Regions from separate parts of the Homo sapiens genome. Here regions 2, 3 and 4 are each linked to region 1. Evidence: promoter capture Hi-C in human tissues and cell types (Jung and others, 2019). All regions are on one chromosome and are shown on one strand. Each heading gives the region's core, a stretch centred on a gene start or on the middle of the fragment in contact. The rest is flanking DNA. Distances are from core to core; before and after follow the strand shown. Region 1 holds the start of RBPMS2 (RNA binding protein, mRNA processing factor 2). Region 2 overlaps MTFMT (mitochondrial methionyl-tRNA formyltransferase). Region 3 holds the start of SPG21 (SPG21 abhydrolase domain containing, maspardin). Region 4 overlaps ZNF609 (zinc finger protein 609).

What was found. Contacts are between HindIII fragments. The study calls those that stand out against the background at their distance.
Region 2: a contact is called between a fragment that was not itself captured here and the fragment with the promoter of RBPMS2 in region 1, in 2 of the 25 tissues and cell types used here (mesenchymal stem cells and thymus).
Region 3: the fragment with the promoter of SPG21 here is called in contact with the fragment with the promoter of RBPMS2 in region 1 in 3 of the 25 tissues and cell types used here (IMR-90 fibroblasts, mesenchymal stem cells and spleen).
Region 4: a contact is called between a fragment that was not itself captured here and the fragment with the promoter of RBPMS2 in region 1, in 1 of the 25 tissues and cell types used here (mesenchymal stem cells).

Annotation. Positions count from the first base shown.
Region 1 is chr15:64,773,946-64,777,696 of GRCh38, reverse strand. It overlaps RBPMS2 (RNA binding protein, mRNA processing factor 2), which reads left to right and starts at 2,108. Exons shown (of 8, transcript NM_194272.3): 1 at 2,108-2,464. The coding sequence starts at 2,378. RefSeq lists enhancers at 555-1,400, 1,401-2,247 and a silencer at 1,683-1,932. The HindIII fragment of the contact is 13,175 bases long and covers 1-3,751 here.
Region 2 is chr15:65,018,481-65,022,231 of GRCh38, reverse strand. It overlaps MTFMT (mitochondrial methionyl-tRNA formyltransferase), which reads left to right. Exons shown (of 9, transcript NM_139242.4): 4 at 616-718; 5 at 1,960-2,035. Among named protein-coding and RNA genes, the nearest start is that of MTFMT, 9.3 kb to the left of the region's middle. The HindIII fragment of the contact is 9,263 bases long and covers 1-3,751 here.
Region 3 is chr15:64,987,792-64,991,542 of GRCh38, reverse strand. SPG21 (SPG21 abhydrolase domain containing, maspardin) reads left to right here and starts at 1,629. Exons shown (of 9, transcript NM_016630.7): 1 at 1,629-1,878. RefSeq lists enhancers at 1,196-1,255, 1,296-1,365, 1,421-1,920, 1,921-2,422 and silencers at 1,436-1,925, 2,046-2,095, 1,898-2,192. The HindIII fragment of the contact is 3,841 bases long and covers 711-3,751 here.
Region 4 is chr15:64,606,540-64,610,290 of GRCh38, reverse strand. All of the region lies in intron 2 of ZNF609 (zinc finger protein 609), which reads right to left. The region is part of intron 3 of LOC101930091 (a long non-coding RNA gene); the gene reads left to right. Among named protein-coding and RNA genes, the nearest start is that of OAZ2, 95 kb to the left of the region's middle. The HindIII fragment of the contact is 4,700 bases long and covers 1-3,751 here.

The DNA of each region.
Region 1 (3,751 bases), core at 859-3,358:
TGTCACCTTTTTGGGCCTTAGCTCTCCCATCTATGGAGAAAACAGAGACCAGAATGGAGAAGAAGGGTGACCAGAATTACAAGATGAGAGGCTCTTCTTTGAAAAATTCAAATTAACCATATAATGGCTGAGTTCAGAAATCTGGCCAGGCTCCTTCTCCTGGAAAAAGCATGGGAAAGGCAGGATCTTGAGGGAAGGGAAGATTTTGGATTGATTAGGGGGAGCGGGGGAGGAAGAGGAAGAGGAAGAGTATTCCTGGGCCAAAGTTAGAGACAAACCTGATAGGAAGACCTATTCTAGGGGAGGGGATGGTGATCAAGCCCACAGCCAGATTGGACTGAGGCCTGTGGAGGATGGTAGGGGTATCTGAGGGTTCCCAAGGTTGGTTCTATCTGGAGATGCCTGAGGCTGGAGGCATCTTAAAAACTCTGGGTAAAGGTCTGGCTCCTACAGGCAGCAGCTCCCTCTTCATAGGGCCTGAGCCAAGTGTTGGCAACAGGGCTGATGGGAAACCAGGGTGCTCTTGGCCTTGCCACCAGCAGAAAATGGTCCCCAGCCCACAGTAGGTGCTCAATAATTATTTACTAAAGGAATGAGTATATCATTGGAAAGACATTGCCCATCTCTAGGCCTCAATTTATCTGTGAGATGGCAGGTCAGGATGGAGATTATAATTTACTGGGAAGACTAAGCCACAGCACAGTGATCCTGTGGTGCTAGTCCTACCTAATTCAGGAGGTCGACACACAGAGGTTCTGGGGGCTCAGGCACTTGTCCACGGTCTGGGATCCTAACCAGTCCGTGACTGCAAATCCAGCTTTTCTTTTTTCTTTTCTTTTTTTGAGACGGAGTTTCGCTCTTGTTGCCCTGGCTGGAGTGCAATGGCAAGATCTCGGGTCACCGCAACCTCCGCCCCGTCCAGGAGAAGGGGCACTGAGGAGGGACCCAGTTCTCCCGCGGCTCTGCCGGATTCAGGCTGCAGCGCTTCCAGCGCTCCCCGAGGTGGGTGCGGGTTTCTACTGTGGCAGCAGGGCGGGCCCCCATCGGCTGGGTTTTCAAATAGAAGAGAAAACCGACCCAGAGGCCGCGCCCTACTGACCTGCGCGGGGGTGCGGGGGGAGTCACGACGACCTCCCCCACCTCCCCCAGCCTCTAGGCTATTACATCCGTCCCCAGCCTTCGGGCTCAGAATAGGAGGCAGGGAAAGGTGTGAGGGGCACTGAGGTCGGGGGAGGAGCGAGAAGACCCGAAAGCCAGGCGTGTTGAGGGCAAGGTGGGCAACAGAACCTTCTTGGTCATTCGAGGCAGCCCTCGCTAATGACCATTGGGGTCCCAACACTCGAATCCCCACCTAAGTCCTATTCAGATAGTGACTGGGAGTGGGAAGGGAGTTTGAGATCCTAAGTCCCACCCTCTGGGCTGGGAGCCTGAGGCCAGAGAGGGGAAGTGATTTCCTCAAGGTCACTCAGCAAAACAGCGCCCAGCCCGGGCCAAAGCTCAGGTGTCTCCCAACCCCCTCCCCCCGGCCATCACCCCCAGAACTCGGTCCCCCGGAGCTGAGGTCTGCGCGACTGGATTTAGGGGCAGAATGAGTGCGTCGGGAACCCCAAAACCCTAGATCAAGATACAAGGGGAGTCGACGGCCCGGAAACCTCGCTGCGGGTGCCCTAAGCGCGAGGCCGCCCGGGCAGGGCCGCCCAGGGACCGGGGCGCTGGGTGCGGGGCACGGGGCTCCACCTCCCGCGGGCTGGGGCGCGCAGCGCGCGGCCCCTTTAAGAAAGTTCGCCGGGCGAGTTCATCAAAGTTTAAAAACTCGCCGTGGAGAAGGGCGCGGGGGAAGAGGAGAGAGGGAGAGCGCTGACCCAGGCGAGAGAGAGGGGAAAGGCCCGGCCGGAGGCCGGCGCCCCGCGGCCGGGGCCGGGGCGAGCCCACGGTGGGCGGTGGGGATTGGCTGCGCGTTCCCCCGGAGACCGCGCGGCGGGCGGGGGAGGGGGCTGGCCGGGCCCCAGCTGAGGCCGGTTCCGGCCCCGCCCCCCGCCGCCGGCGCCCGCCCCCTCCCCCGGCGCCCGCCCCCCGCCGCCGCTGCCGCCGCCGCCGCCGCCGCGGCGCACTCGCCGGTCGCAGTGAAAAGGCGGAGGCGGCGGCCCCTCCGGCTCCCACTGCCTCCCCCGCCGCACCCCCTCCCCACCTTCCGCACCCGCCAAACTTGATGTGACCCTGGCCCGACGCGGAGGCTGCCCCTCTCACTGCCCCGTGGGTCCCCCGCCACCCGCTCCGCACCCGCGAGCGCACCGCTCCCCGCGCCCCTTCCCACTTCCCGCGGGGCCGGCGCCGCGCTCGCCCTCGCGTTCCTTCCCGCCGCCCCCTCCCCCGCACCATGAGCAACCTGAAGCCGGACGGCGAGCACGGCGGCAGCACCGGCACCGGCTCCGGCGCGGGCTCCGGCGGCGCCCTGGAGGAGGAGGTGGGTCTGTGGCCCCGGGACTTGCCGGGTGAAGCGCACGCCAGGCGGGCGCGGGAGAGGGCGAGCGGGGCCTGCCGCGCCTCGCGGGGCCGGGGTGGCCATCGCTCCCGGCGCCTTCCCGCCGCTGCCCTCTCGCCCGGGTAGGAGCGGCCCGTGTCCGCGGGCGGGAGCGTGCGGCCTGGACTGCCCCGCCGGACAGGCATTGTCTCCCCGCCCTCTCGGGCTCGAGGCGGGCCGCGCGCGCCGGCCGCCGTCCGGGCGTCCCGCGGTGGGCGAGATGCGCCGCGTCCGTTCCATGCCTGCCGCCCGCGCGCCCCTTGCTCCCCACCCCGTAGCCGCTCGCCGCCCTCCTCCGAGGCGCACCTCCTGCGTGGCCAGGACCCCGCCTCGGCGGCACGGAGCGGAGCGGGATTAGCACGGCCCGAGGGCGGCACCCTCACTCCACTGCCTTTTCCGCCCTGACCCCCTCCCCGTGACCTTGGAGGCCTGGGCCGGCCGGCTCCTCGGTTCCTGCGAGCTGTTGTCATGGGGGTGGGCGGGCTTTCTTCACAGCCCCAGAACCTGGGCTTTGGCAGAGGTGAGCCCACAATTTAATTAGTTTGGAAGATGACTAAAGACACTCAGTTCGTCCTTCTCCTCTCTCTGGGTTTGTCCTGGCAACCAAGCCAGGACCCCAAAGCTGGCCTGGGTGGGATCCTGCCAGGAGGGGCGAAATCATCTCGTCCACCGGCCATGTGCGAAAGGGAGGGAGTGTAAGGCGGCTCCGTGGAACCACCAGCAGCTGGGTGGTTAATGGATGGTAGGGAGGATGTGTGTGCGGGGTGGGGTGCTGGATAAAAGCCTCAAAGATATCAGTGAATAGGGACGAGGAGCTAGGCTGGCGGAGACAAGAACTGGAGTAGAAGGGGACAGGCTTCGCAGGGCCTCTGGCCTCTGCTGCGTCATTCTAGGGGTGAGAGAGCCTTCCTGCCCCTGCCCTGGCATGTTCTCGCCCAGGAAACCAAGGGCTGGTTATCCACCTTGGGCGCCCTTCCCCTTGGCCTGGGGGAGAAACCGCAGAGCCCCTGGTGTGGACTGGTGTTGCCTCCTCCCCTTGTGCTGGGGGTTGGTGCAGAATGGCGCCGGTGGCCCTCGGCTGGGCTGGGCTCAGCGCCGCCAGCTCCCACTCGGCTATTCAGAGACCTTCAGCCAGCCCCAGTCGATGACAATCTAGGTTTGGATCTCCACTTTTTGGCGGAAGGGGAAGGGAAGAATATACAACTGTGACATCTGTCCACTAATGACTTA
Region 2 (3,751 bases), core at 931-3,430, 240 kb before region 1:
CTTGGCCTCCCAAAGTGCTGTGATTACAGGCATGAGCCACTACGCCTGGCCCTACTTATAATCACCTATGGTGATAATCTAGGCAAAACTCTTATCCTTTGAGGAAGGGACTATAGAAATAAATAATTATGAACTTCCTAACTGTACTTCCATGGAAAATAAATTCTTTGCCTTATGCTTTTCATATACAAATAGAGATTTTTTCATGCTATTACTAATGATATAATTTTTCTGTAATTGTAATTAAATTCCTGATATGCAACTGTATCGTTTCTTTGCTTTAGGGAAAAATAAATTTAGACTCTAAACACAGGCCATATTTTGTTCTCCCGTCTTTCAAACTGACATATCTTCCTTGCTAATGTCTAACAGCCAAATTAATAGCCAGTGATAAACTATCTTTATTTATTTTTTTTAAGAGATAGGGGCTAGCTGTGTTGCCCAGGCTGGTCTCAAACTCCAGGGATCAAGCAATCCTGCTGCCTCAGCCTCCTGAGCAACTAGGACTATAGGCATGCAGACCACTGTACCCAGCTTGTATCTTTTTGTGTGTAGACAAACATTGATTCAGGAAATGGTAATCATTGTCATTATTTGCTTTTGATTTTTTGCTAGGTTTGATGTAGGCCCAATTCTCAAACAAGAAACTGTTCCTGTGCCACCCAAGAGCACTGCAAAGGAATTGGAAGCAGTGTTGTCAAGACTGGGTGCCAACATGGTATAATTCCCCAATATCCTACTGCTTTTTACTCATTTAGTGGGTTTCCTAAGTGGTTATAAAAAGAAGAACAATTTTGTGACTTCTAATTTTCTTAAAAACAAAAAAGAGTAATTTCTATCTTTGGCTTCCTAAAAATTAGCCTGGCATTTGTGATCTCATGTAAATCTTTGAGAATTTACAAAGAGTAAGTACTGAATAAAGGCTTTCAAGTGAAACAGGTGATCTTACATGACCTACTACATGCCATAGTGAGGTCTTAGACTATTCTTCTCAATTTCACTCTCCGCACTCTGGTATGTATACCTTGCATCCCTGTCAGAATGAACTAACAGCAATTTTCTAAGCGACTCTTAGCTTTCCTTCCATTTCTTTGCCTGGCTTCAGTCATTTGCACTAGAATTCTGCTGACCATTCTACCTATAGATGATCCTTCTTTTTTCTGTGGCTTTGTATATATAATTCATTGAAACTGCATGAGTAGAGTCTGGGTAAATGTTTAATGACTAAACTTATGTTTTCCATATGAACGGGTTAATTTTATACAGAGGAATATTTTTTTCCCACCTGTAGAGATGGTATTTCCTATTCTAGGCACTTACCTCACAAATGATCTTATAATAGTGACTGCCGTTTATTGAACATTGGCTTGTGTTCTACAACTGTTCTAGATACTGTATGGACTTTTTCTTTTTACCCTCTCAACTTTGAGGTAGTTGTTGCTGTTGATTGTTTCACAGATGATGACATTGAAGGCCAGAGACAAGCTAAATAACTTTTCCACAATGAGACAGCTGGTAGGTGGTAGAACTAGGACTTGAACCCAGAGCTGGGTGACTCCATAGTACATTGTCCTGTGAGGTTTCACTGCCTTGGCCCCCATGGGGTGAGAGTGTGTATAGCCAAGCCCGGGCTATCCTGATGCCAAAGCTTCCACAGCATTCTCTAGAAGTGAATCAATGACCTGTACTCTACAGAAAGCAGAATCTCTACTGAGGTTTCCCCAAGTAGACACCTATCCTCACAGCTTAAGCCAATGTACTACCTTACCCTGCCACATAGATCTTTTAAAGTTATAGGTTCAGCCTTGAAGAGCCAATAGTAAAGATTTTTTTTTTAATTTGAAAAAAGAAAAAGAAAAAAAGTTATAGGTTATTTCATGGTGCTGAATTGTAATGTGTTTCTGCTTTTGTTCTTCCCTTCATTTTGAATATATCACACTCTTTTTTTTTTTTTTGTAGCTCATTTCAGTTTTGAAAAATTTGCCTGAAAGTCTGAGCAATGGAAGGCAGCAGCCAATGGAGGGGGCGACTTACGGTGAGTGAAGGCTGCAGAGACTCTCATCTTTCTAAAGGTTCTGCTTGTCACGATAGCATCTGAACATTCTGACTTCTTAGCTGTACTTTTCCCTTAATTTTGATTGAGTGCCCACTTTTGTGTGCTTTTCCAAAGAATGGTAGAAAGCATTCTTTCTCCCTCTTAGCATATAGCCTCATGAAGGATTGAGCATTTTTTTCCAACTTCTTGATTTTGAAAATATTAAATAGAAAGACTGGTATAATAAACACCAGTTTACCCCAGAGTCAACAATTATTAATGTTTGTCCATATTTTCTTTCTCTTTATGTATTTATTACGTGTATTTTAAATTCTGCTTATTCATTTGGAAGTATGAATCATGATCTTTCATCTCTAAGTAGTTTAGTATGCCTTTCCTAAGAAAAATGAACAATTTCCTGATAGCATCCAATGTTCAGTTCATATTTAAGTGTTCCTAATTGTCTAAAAATTTATTTTATAGTTTTATTTTTCAAACTAGGATTTAATTGTAATTAGTTGTTATGTCTCTTTAGTCTCTAAAAAAAATTCCTCTTTTTTTCCTCTCTCTATGTCATTGACTTTTTGAAGAGACCAGGCCAGTTGTTTGATTTGTTTTCTTCCAGTGTTGTTTAACTTGTTCCCTATCTCTTATATTTCCTATAATTAGTTCTAAAGGTTTGGCTGGATTCAGGCTTAAAGTTTTTGGAAAGAGTGTGTTTCAGTGACATTTGTTTTCTTCTTTTTTGTTTTTTTTAGTAGAGTTAGGAGTATAAACATTTGTTTCAGTTTGTTTTTAATTTTAGGGATTACTTTTTATTTTTCTTTATGATTAAATGTTATTTTTTGAATATGTAAAACATATAGCTGATTCAAAAGTTAATATACCTAGAGAAGTCTCACTTTTGTCCCCTACAGTCTTAAGGTACCACTTGAGTAAGCCAAGATATCAGACTGTACTAAAGCAAGTGAAGCTAAGTTTGATCACTTGGTTGAGATGGTGACCACCAGATCTTTCCAGTGTTAAGATGTGTTTTCCCTTTTGCAATTAGCAGGTAATCTGTGGGGTAATTAATACTCTGGCACTGTGCAGATATCCTGTTCCCTAACAACCTTTCACATGATGGTTTTAGTACAGATTGATATTCCTTGCCCAAATGAATTATTTCACTATGGATTACAAAATGGCAATTTTCTAATTCCTTTTACATTTAATAGCTGGTATTGTTCTGGAAAGAAGAGTTTTTCCTCATTAATTGGAGGTGAATTTTAGTTCATCCTAAAATGGGGACAGGGGCTTAATTCTTTCTCTTTAATTAGAATAAGAAGTTGATGCCATTAATTGCCTTCAATTTTGGTGTCAGATGCGTTCTTTTTAGTATCATTTGACGCGTAGATTTTCATTGATTGTGTTTTACAGTCATAATTCTTTATATTTGCCCAGTGGGAGCCCCTTAAATTTGGCTCCTACATTCTGTTAACACTCTTCACTTCCCACTAGTTTGGAGTGCTTCCTTGCTTCCACCACAGTATGTCCCAGGCTCGCCTATGTGTCCTCTGGCTCACACTGAAATCAACCAGTGTGATTTCCAGGGAGCTTTTGTTCATTTTAGTGGGGTTGATAATTAGAGATCATCTGGTACAACAATGTATGGCAAGATAAGGTATCAGTGGACTAAACTAGAAGTTATATTTTTAAAAAATATTCAAGCTCATA
Region 3 (3,751 bases), core at 380-2,879, 210 kb before region 1:
TATCCATAGATTAGGTCTCATTAAAGCTGTTACTAAATGGGGTCTAGGGATGGGGTCTAAGGAATACAGCTTTAGGAACAAATGTGGAAATGGGGATAGATTTATTTATTCCACTCATTAATTCATTCAATATAGTTTTTTGTTGGGAGCAGACAAGGTCTCTCGCTTTGTCACCTAGGATGTGGTGCAGTGGATTCGACATCTGGGCTTAACAGATTCTCCCATCTCAGCCTCCTGAGTAGCGGGGATTACAGGCATGCGCCACCACGCCCGGCTAATTTTTGTATTTTTTTGTACAGACAGGGTCTCCCAGGTTGCCCAGGCTAGTCTCGAACTCCTGGGCTCAATCAAGCGATCCGTCCACCTTGGCCTCCCAAAGTGCTGGGATTACAATCAATATACATTTAGTACCTATTATTTATGGGCTAATCATGTGCTAATGGACTGGTGGAATCACTCTATTCCCTTTGCTCTAGATTGAAGCTTCGAGACCACCTGGGAAAATAGACAACTAATGTAATGAATATCCATAACCAGTTTCAGAGACAACCAGTAGTTTGCAAGTTATTCCACCCATTAAACGATTCCAAATGTTGGAGAAAAGGCCCCCAACTTAAAATACTCCACGGAAACGTGCTCTATACATCTATGTGGTGCTTACAATAAAAGATGAATTCCTGCGACTGAGTTGCAACCCCGAAAGAAATGATTTAGAGAAAAAAAGAAAGAAAGAAAAAGGTAAGTATGTCACCGTGCTTTTGGAAAATGCTTTTGGGATTTGTCCAAGTTCTAGAGTGGAACCCAAGGCTCCTGGGCCAGGGGACAGAAGTGATAACTAAGTAGGATGCAATTTAGTTGGAATCTTCCCTGACCTTAATCCCATAAACAGTTGCCTAGGTAAAGGCAAAGTCTACAGGCCCTAAAACAGGGTACAAGCTTTCCCTAAAACATATTAGAGAGAGGCACTTTCAACAGGACCTTGTTGCAGGATCCCTAAAAAAAAAATTCAAAACAAGGAGATTTACATGTTATTCACCTTATCATAATTTCAGAAATATTTTACTAATAAAAAAGGAGTCGTGAAGTCTGGAACACCTTAAGACGTGACGTCTGCAACACCTTAAGAACAATGATTACAAATGTATTAATATTCTCTCTGATTTTAAGGGAAAAGTGATGAAGGAACAGGAAGATGGGTGGGCGTATGTTCCCAGAAATCCCCAGAACGTCAAAAAGGAAGCGGAGGCTTTGAGTGGAGGACTACGGAGAGCGTCTACGGTTGTGCCAAAGGAAAAAAAATGTTCCTAAGAAAAGAGTATACAAAGTTGTGTTCATCAAAGTCTGGAACCCAAAGGTGTCCCTCCAAAGCTGTACACGACAGAGAAAACGCGAACTGAAAGAAGAAGCAGGTCCCAAGGGGCCAGGCGCCTCCTCCACCTCCTCCTCCTCCTAGGTACGTAGGGCAGAACTAAGGCTGACCCAGACGTAACTCAGCCCTCTCCTCACGCCAGCCGCAGCCAAGCATCCCACGGAGCCTCCCCCCGCGCCCGTCGCCGTGGCGACCGCCGGGGCCACGCAGCACCGCCCCTTCCTCGCGACGTGGCCCCGCCCTCTGAGAACCCGGAAGCGGGAGTCTCGCGCCAGCTGAGCGGCGGTCGGGCGGGGGGAGCGCGGCGGCCCAAGCTCGCTCGGCCACGCGCCCCGCCCCCTCAGAGGCCGGCCTCCCGCACGCACCGCGCAGCCTGCTGTGCCCGTGGGTCCCGAGTGCTCCGCCGCCCGCCCCGACCCGGGCCCAGCCGCCTCCACGGCCCGCGCTCGTACTGGAGCGAAGAGCGGCCTCCTGAAGGAGGGGAAGGGACGTGGGGGCGGCCACGGCAGGTGAGGGTGGGCGAAGCCCTGGGAAGCGGCTGGGTGTGCGGTATGCGGGGTTGTAGGTGTGTGTGTGTGGCGCGTGGCTGCCTTGGTTGGTGTGACTTTGTGAGTGTGTTCTGAGTGGGCCGGTCCATGTGACCACGCACGTGATCACGTGCCCTTGTGAGTGTGTGTCTGGGGCCGAATCTGGGCTGTGGGGTGGTCGGTGTGCTTGTGACCCTGCCTTTGTGTGGCTGTCACCGGTGGGACTGGCGGGGAGCTGTGTGTGAGTCTCCAGCGGGAGGTGGGGGCGGCACAGGGCTTAACCGGGGCATCCTCCTGTAAACCCATCCTGGGGCTACACGACTGCAGCCCAGGAACATTTCTTTCTTTCTTTCTTTCTTTTTTTTTTTCTCAGCAAACTTTTAAGAACTGTGAGCAGAGGCCAGTAATTTTGGAGACAGGACCTCGGCCTGAAAGTGATAGATGTCTTTGTTGTTACTGAGTGTGGGCCAGGTGTAAGGTTTGTAAACGGGGGATGAGGAACAGAGCGGGACCGGAGTGTCTCATTTTTCCTCTTCTCGTTTTCCTGGGGAGTTATAAGTTAGACATTTATGCTGCTTCCTTTGTCTCCACCTACACTGGTTCAGCTCCTTTTGGCACAAAGATTCAACAAATTAAGGAGTAACTTTTTTTTTTTTTTTTTTTTTGAGACGGAGTCTCGCTCCGTCGCCCAGGCTGGAGTGCAGTGGCGCCATCCCAGCTCACTGCAAGCTCTGTCTGCTGGGTTTACGCCATTCTCCTGCCTCAGCCTCCCGAGTAGCTGGCACTACAGGCTCCCGCCACCACGCCCGGCTAATTTTTTGTATTTTTAGTAGAGACGGGGTTTCACCGTGTTAGCCAGGATGGCCTCGATCTCCTGACCTCGTGATCCGCCCGCCTCGGCCTCCCAAAGGGCTGAGATTACAGGCGTGAGCCATCGCGGCTGGCCACTGAGGAGTAACTTAATAGCTGTGTCCAAATTCCAAAAGCTTTTTTCCCAAGAGCATGAGAAGAGATGTCACAGATGTCAGGTAGGCACCTTTTCCTCCTGTAAGGTTTAGAGATAATGCAATGAAGAAAAGAGGGATAGATCTCCCCTGAAGAGATCTAAGAAAAGGATAGCTGTGTACTTCTGTGGTGAGGGATGGAGACGTGCATTAAAAAGCCAGTTGCATCTCCCAGAGACTCTCAGCTTCTAATATTTTGTTATGGCTAGTATTTATAAGCACAGATTTTCCACAATGCACATCAACTATAGATTGAAATAAAGTAGCAGAAACCTCTGACTAATTATGCTGGTTATGTGACTTAAACATTGATAAAGGTGATTTTGTTGACTTTAAAGTGGCAGGTTCTGTTGAAGCCATGAGGGATAGGGGCATAGTCACAACTGGCAGGTTTTTTTGTTTGTTTGTTTGTTTGTTTTTTGAGACAGAGTCTCACTCTGTCGCCCAGGCTGGAGTGCAGTGGTGTGATCTCAGCTCACTGCAACCTCCGCCACCCAGGTTCAAGCAATTCTCCTGCCTCAGCCTCCTAAGTAGCTGGGATTACAGGAGCCCATCACCGCGCCCAGCTAATTTGTTTTTGTTGTTGTTGCTGTTTTGTTTGTTTTTTTGAGATGGAGTTTCGCTCTCGTTGCCCAGGCTGGAGTGCAATGGCGTGATCTCGGCTCACCGCAACCTCTGCCTCCCGGGTTCAAGTGATTCTTCTGCCTCAGCTTCCTGCGTAGCTGGGATTACAGGCATGTGCCACCACGCCTAGCTAATTTTGTATTTTTAGTAGAGACGGGGCTGCACCATGTTGGCCAGGCTGGTCTCGAACTCCTGACCTCAGGTGATCCACCTGCCTCAGCCTCCCA
Region 4 (3,751 bases), core at 549-3,048, 170 kb after region 1:
TTCCCCTCTAAGTGTCCATGTGTTCTCATCATTTAGCTCTCACTAATAAGTGAGAACAAGTGGTATTTGGTTTTCTGTTTCTGCGTTGGTTTGCTCAATTTTTAATTTTTAAATTTGTAAAGATGGGGGTCTCCCTATGTTGCCTAAGCTGCTCTCGAACTCCTGGGCTCAAGAGATCCTTGTGCCTTGGCCTCCCAAAGTGCTAGGATTACAGGTGTGACACTTCACCTTGCAGGAAATTCTTAAAAACTGAGAACCTTATTATTATTATTATTTTTTGAGATAGCATCTCATGCTGTCACCCAGGCTGGAGTGCAGTGGCTTGATCTCTGACTCCTGGGTTCAAGCAATTCTCATGCCTCAGCCTCCCGAGCAGCTGGGACTACAGGTGCATGCCACCACACTGGACTAATTTTTGCATTTTTAGTAGAGACGAGGTTTTACCGTGTTAGCCAGGCTGGTCTTGAACTCCTAACCTCAAGTGATCCACCCGCCTTGGCCTCCCAAAGTGCTGGGATTACAGGTGTGAGCCACCACACCCGGCCTTATTTTTTTCATATACTTAACATATTTTCCCCCTCTTATACCTAGTCCCATAAAAAAAAAAAATGAGAACCTTAAAGAGCCTTGGTTTAGGTAGGCTATATCCCTTGATATTTAACATATTAGAAATTAAAATGAGGCCATGCACCGTGGCTCACGCCTGTAATCCCAGCACTTTGGGAGCCCAAGGCGGGTGGATCACCTGAGGTCAGGAGTTCAAGACCAGCCTGGACAACATGATGAAACCCCGTCTCTATAAAAAAATACGGCCGGGCGCGGTGGCTCATGCCTGTAATCCCAGCACTTTGAGAGGCCGAGGAGGGTGGATCATGAGGTCAGGAGATCAAGACCATCCTGGCTAACAAGGTGAAACCCCATCTCTACTAAAAAACAAACAAACAAACAAACAAAAACAAAAATTAGCCTCTTAGATATTCGAGAGGCTGAGGCATGACAATTGCTTGAACCCAGGAAGCAGAGGTTGCAGTGAGCCGAGACTGCACCACTGCACTCCAGCCTGGGCGACAGAGTGATAAGAAAGAAAGTAAAAGAAAGGACAAGAAAGACAGACAGACAGAAAGAAAGAAAGAGAGAGAGAGAAAAAAAAGAAAGAAAAAAAGAAAGAAAGAAAGAAAGAAAGAAAGAAAGAAAGAAAGAAAGAAAGAAAGAAAGAAAGAAAGAAAAATTAAAACTAAAACATGCAAGTAACAGGGCTGGGTGTGGTAACTCACGCCTATCATCTCAGCACTTTGGGAGCCTGAGGTGGGTAGAATGCTTTAGCCCAGGATTTCCAGATCTGCAGGGGCAACATAGGAAGACCCCATCTTTAAAAATAAAAAAAATTAGCTGGGCATGGTTGCACATGCCTGTTGTCCCAGCTACTTAGGAGGCTGAGGTGGGAGGATCGCTTGGGCCCAGGAGGTTGAGGCTGCAGTAAGCCATGATCATGCCACTGCATTCCAGCTTGGGGGACAAAGTGAGATGCTGTATCAAAAAAATACACACACACACACACACACACACGCATGCATGCATACACACATATAACAATTTTGAAATAAAATTAGAGACAAAGAGAACAGATTGGCAGCTGCCAGGGATTAGGGGTGGGCAGGGGAAGGTGGAAGAAAGGTAAATGTAGTTGTAAATAGTCAACACAAGAGATCTTTTTGGTGATGTGGTGATGTAACTGTTCTGTATCTTGACTGGGTGGTGGATACATGAACTTATACATGGGACAAAACTGTATGGAACTACACACACCCAGAAAAACACACAAATGAGTACGAGTAAATGGGGGAAATCTGAACACAATAGGTGAATGCATCAATATTACCATCCCAGTTGCAATATTGTGCTAGAGTTCTGCAAGATATTATCATTGGGGAAACCTAGGAAAAGGGTACATGGTACATGAGAGTACTGTATTACAAATACAATTATATTAAAACAAAAAGATTTTAAAAAAGTTAAGAACCCCAAAGAACTTTTATTTATGTGGGATAAATTGACTGATGTTTACCAGACTAGAATTAAAATAAGAAATAATTTGGCTGGGCATGGTGGCTCAGGCTTGTAATCCTAGCACTTTGGGAGGCCAAGGCGGGCGGATTGCCTGAGGTCAGGAGTTCGAGACTAGCCTGACCAACATGGTGAACCCATCTCTTCTAAAAATACAAAAATTAGCCGGGCATGTTGGCGCATGCCTGTAATCCCAGCTACTCAGGAAGCTGAGGCAGGAGAATTGCTTGAATCCAGGAGGAGGGGGTTGCAGTGAGCCGAGATCCTGCCACCCTACTCTAGCCCGGGCAACAGAGTGAGACTCTGTCTCAAAAAAAAAAAAAAAAAAAAAGAAAGAAAAGAAAGAAGAAAGAAAGAAAGAAAGAAAGAAAGAAAGAAAGAAAGAAAGAAAGAAAGAAAGAAAGAAAGAAGAAAACATTTAAGGCCAGGTGCAGTAGATGACGCCTGTAATCCCAGCACTTTGGGGGGCCAAGGAGGGTGGATCACCTAAGTTCAGGAGTTCAAGACCAGCCTGGCCAACATGGTGAGACCCCGTCAGTACTAAAAATACAAAAATTAGCCAGGTGTGGTGGCAGATGCCTGTAATTCCAGCTACTCGGGAGGCTGAAGCAACAGAATCACTTGAACCTGGGAGGCGGAGGTTGCAGTGAGCCAAGATCGCGCCACTGCACCCCAGCCTGGGCAACACAGTGAGATTCTGTCTCCAAAAAAAAAAAAAAAAAAAGTATGCCTTAAGTTAGTTAAAATAACATTAAAAAACCTGTTAAATATTAACATATTATTTTCAATGTCTGGTTTAATAGAAGACAGCTGGATTCTCCATTCAATCTGTTGGTGAAATGTTTTGGTTCAAGTATACAAAGAAAATCAGCCTTACATAGAATATATATGGTACAGATATATGTATATGTGTGTGTTGTTTTACAGATAATGTATATAATGTTTGTATTTAATAGCCTTTTCAGATAACTGTGGATATTATTCCTTGATATGACACCAATAAATTCAGTAAATGATAGTTCTATTATTTATTTATTTTTTTTACTTTATTTATTTATTTTTTACTTTATTTATTTATTTTTTTTATGGAGTGTCACTCTTATTGCCCAGGCTGAAGTGCAGTGGCGCGATCTCAGCTTACTGCAACCTCCGCCTCCCGAGTTCAAGCGATTCTCCTGCCTCAGCCTCCCGAGTAGCTGGGATTACAGGCATGTGCCACCACGCCTGGCTAATTTTGTATTTCTAATAGAGACGGGGTTTCTCCATGTTGATCAGGCTGGTCTCAAACTCCCAACCTCAGGGTGATCCGCCAGCCTCGGCCTCCCAAAGTGCTGGGATTACAGGCATGAGCCACCACGCCCAGCCCATGCCTGGCTAATTTTTGTATTTGGAGACAGGGTTTCACCATGTTGGCCAGACTGATCTCGAACTCCTGACCTCAGGTGATCCTCCTGCCTCGGCCTCCCAAAGTGCTGGTATTACTGATGTAACCGTTTTAAACTATAAATGCTGATCTTGGCAGAAGTGGTAGCTCATGCCTATAATCCCAGCTCTTTGGTAGGCCAAGGTTGGAGGACTGCTTGAACTCAGGAATTTGAGGCTAGCCTGGGGAACACAGTGAGATCCTGTTTCTATAAAAAGTTTTTCTGTTTTTTTTTTTTTTTTTTTGAGATGGAGTCTTGCTCTG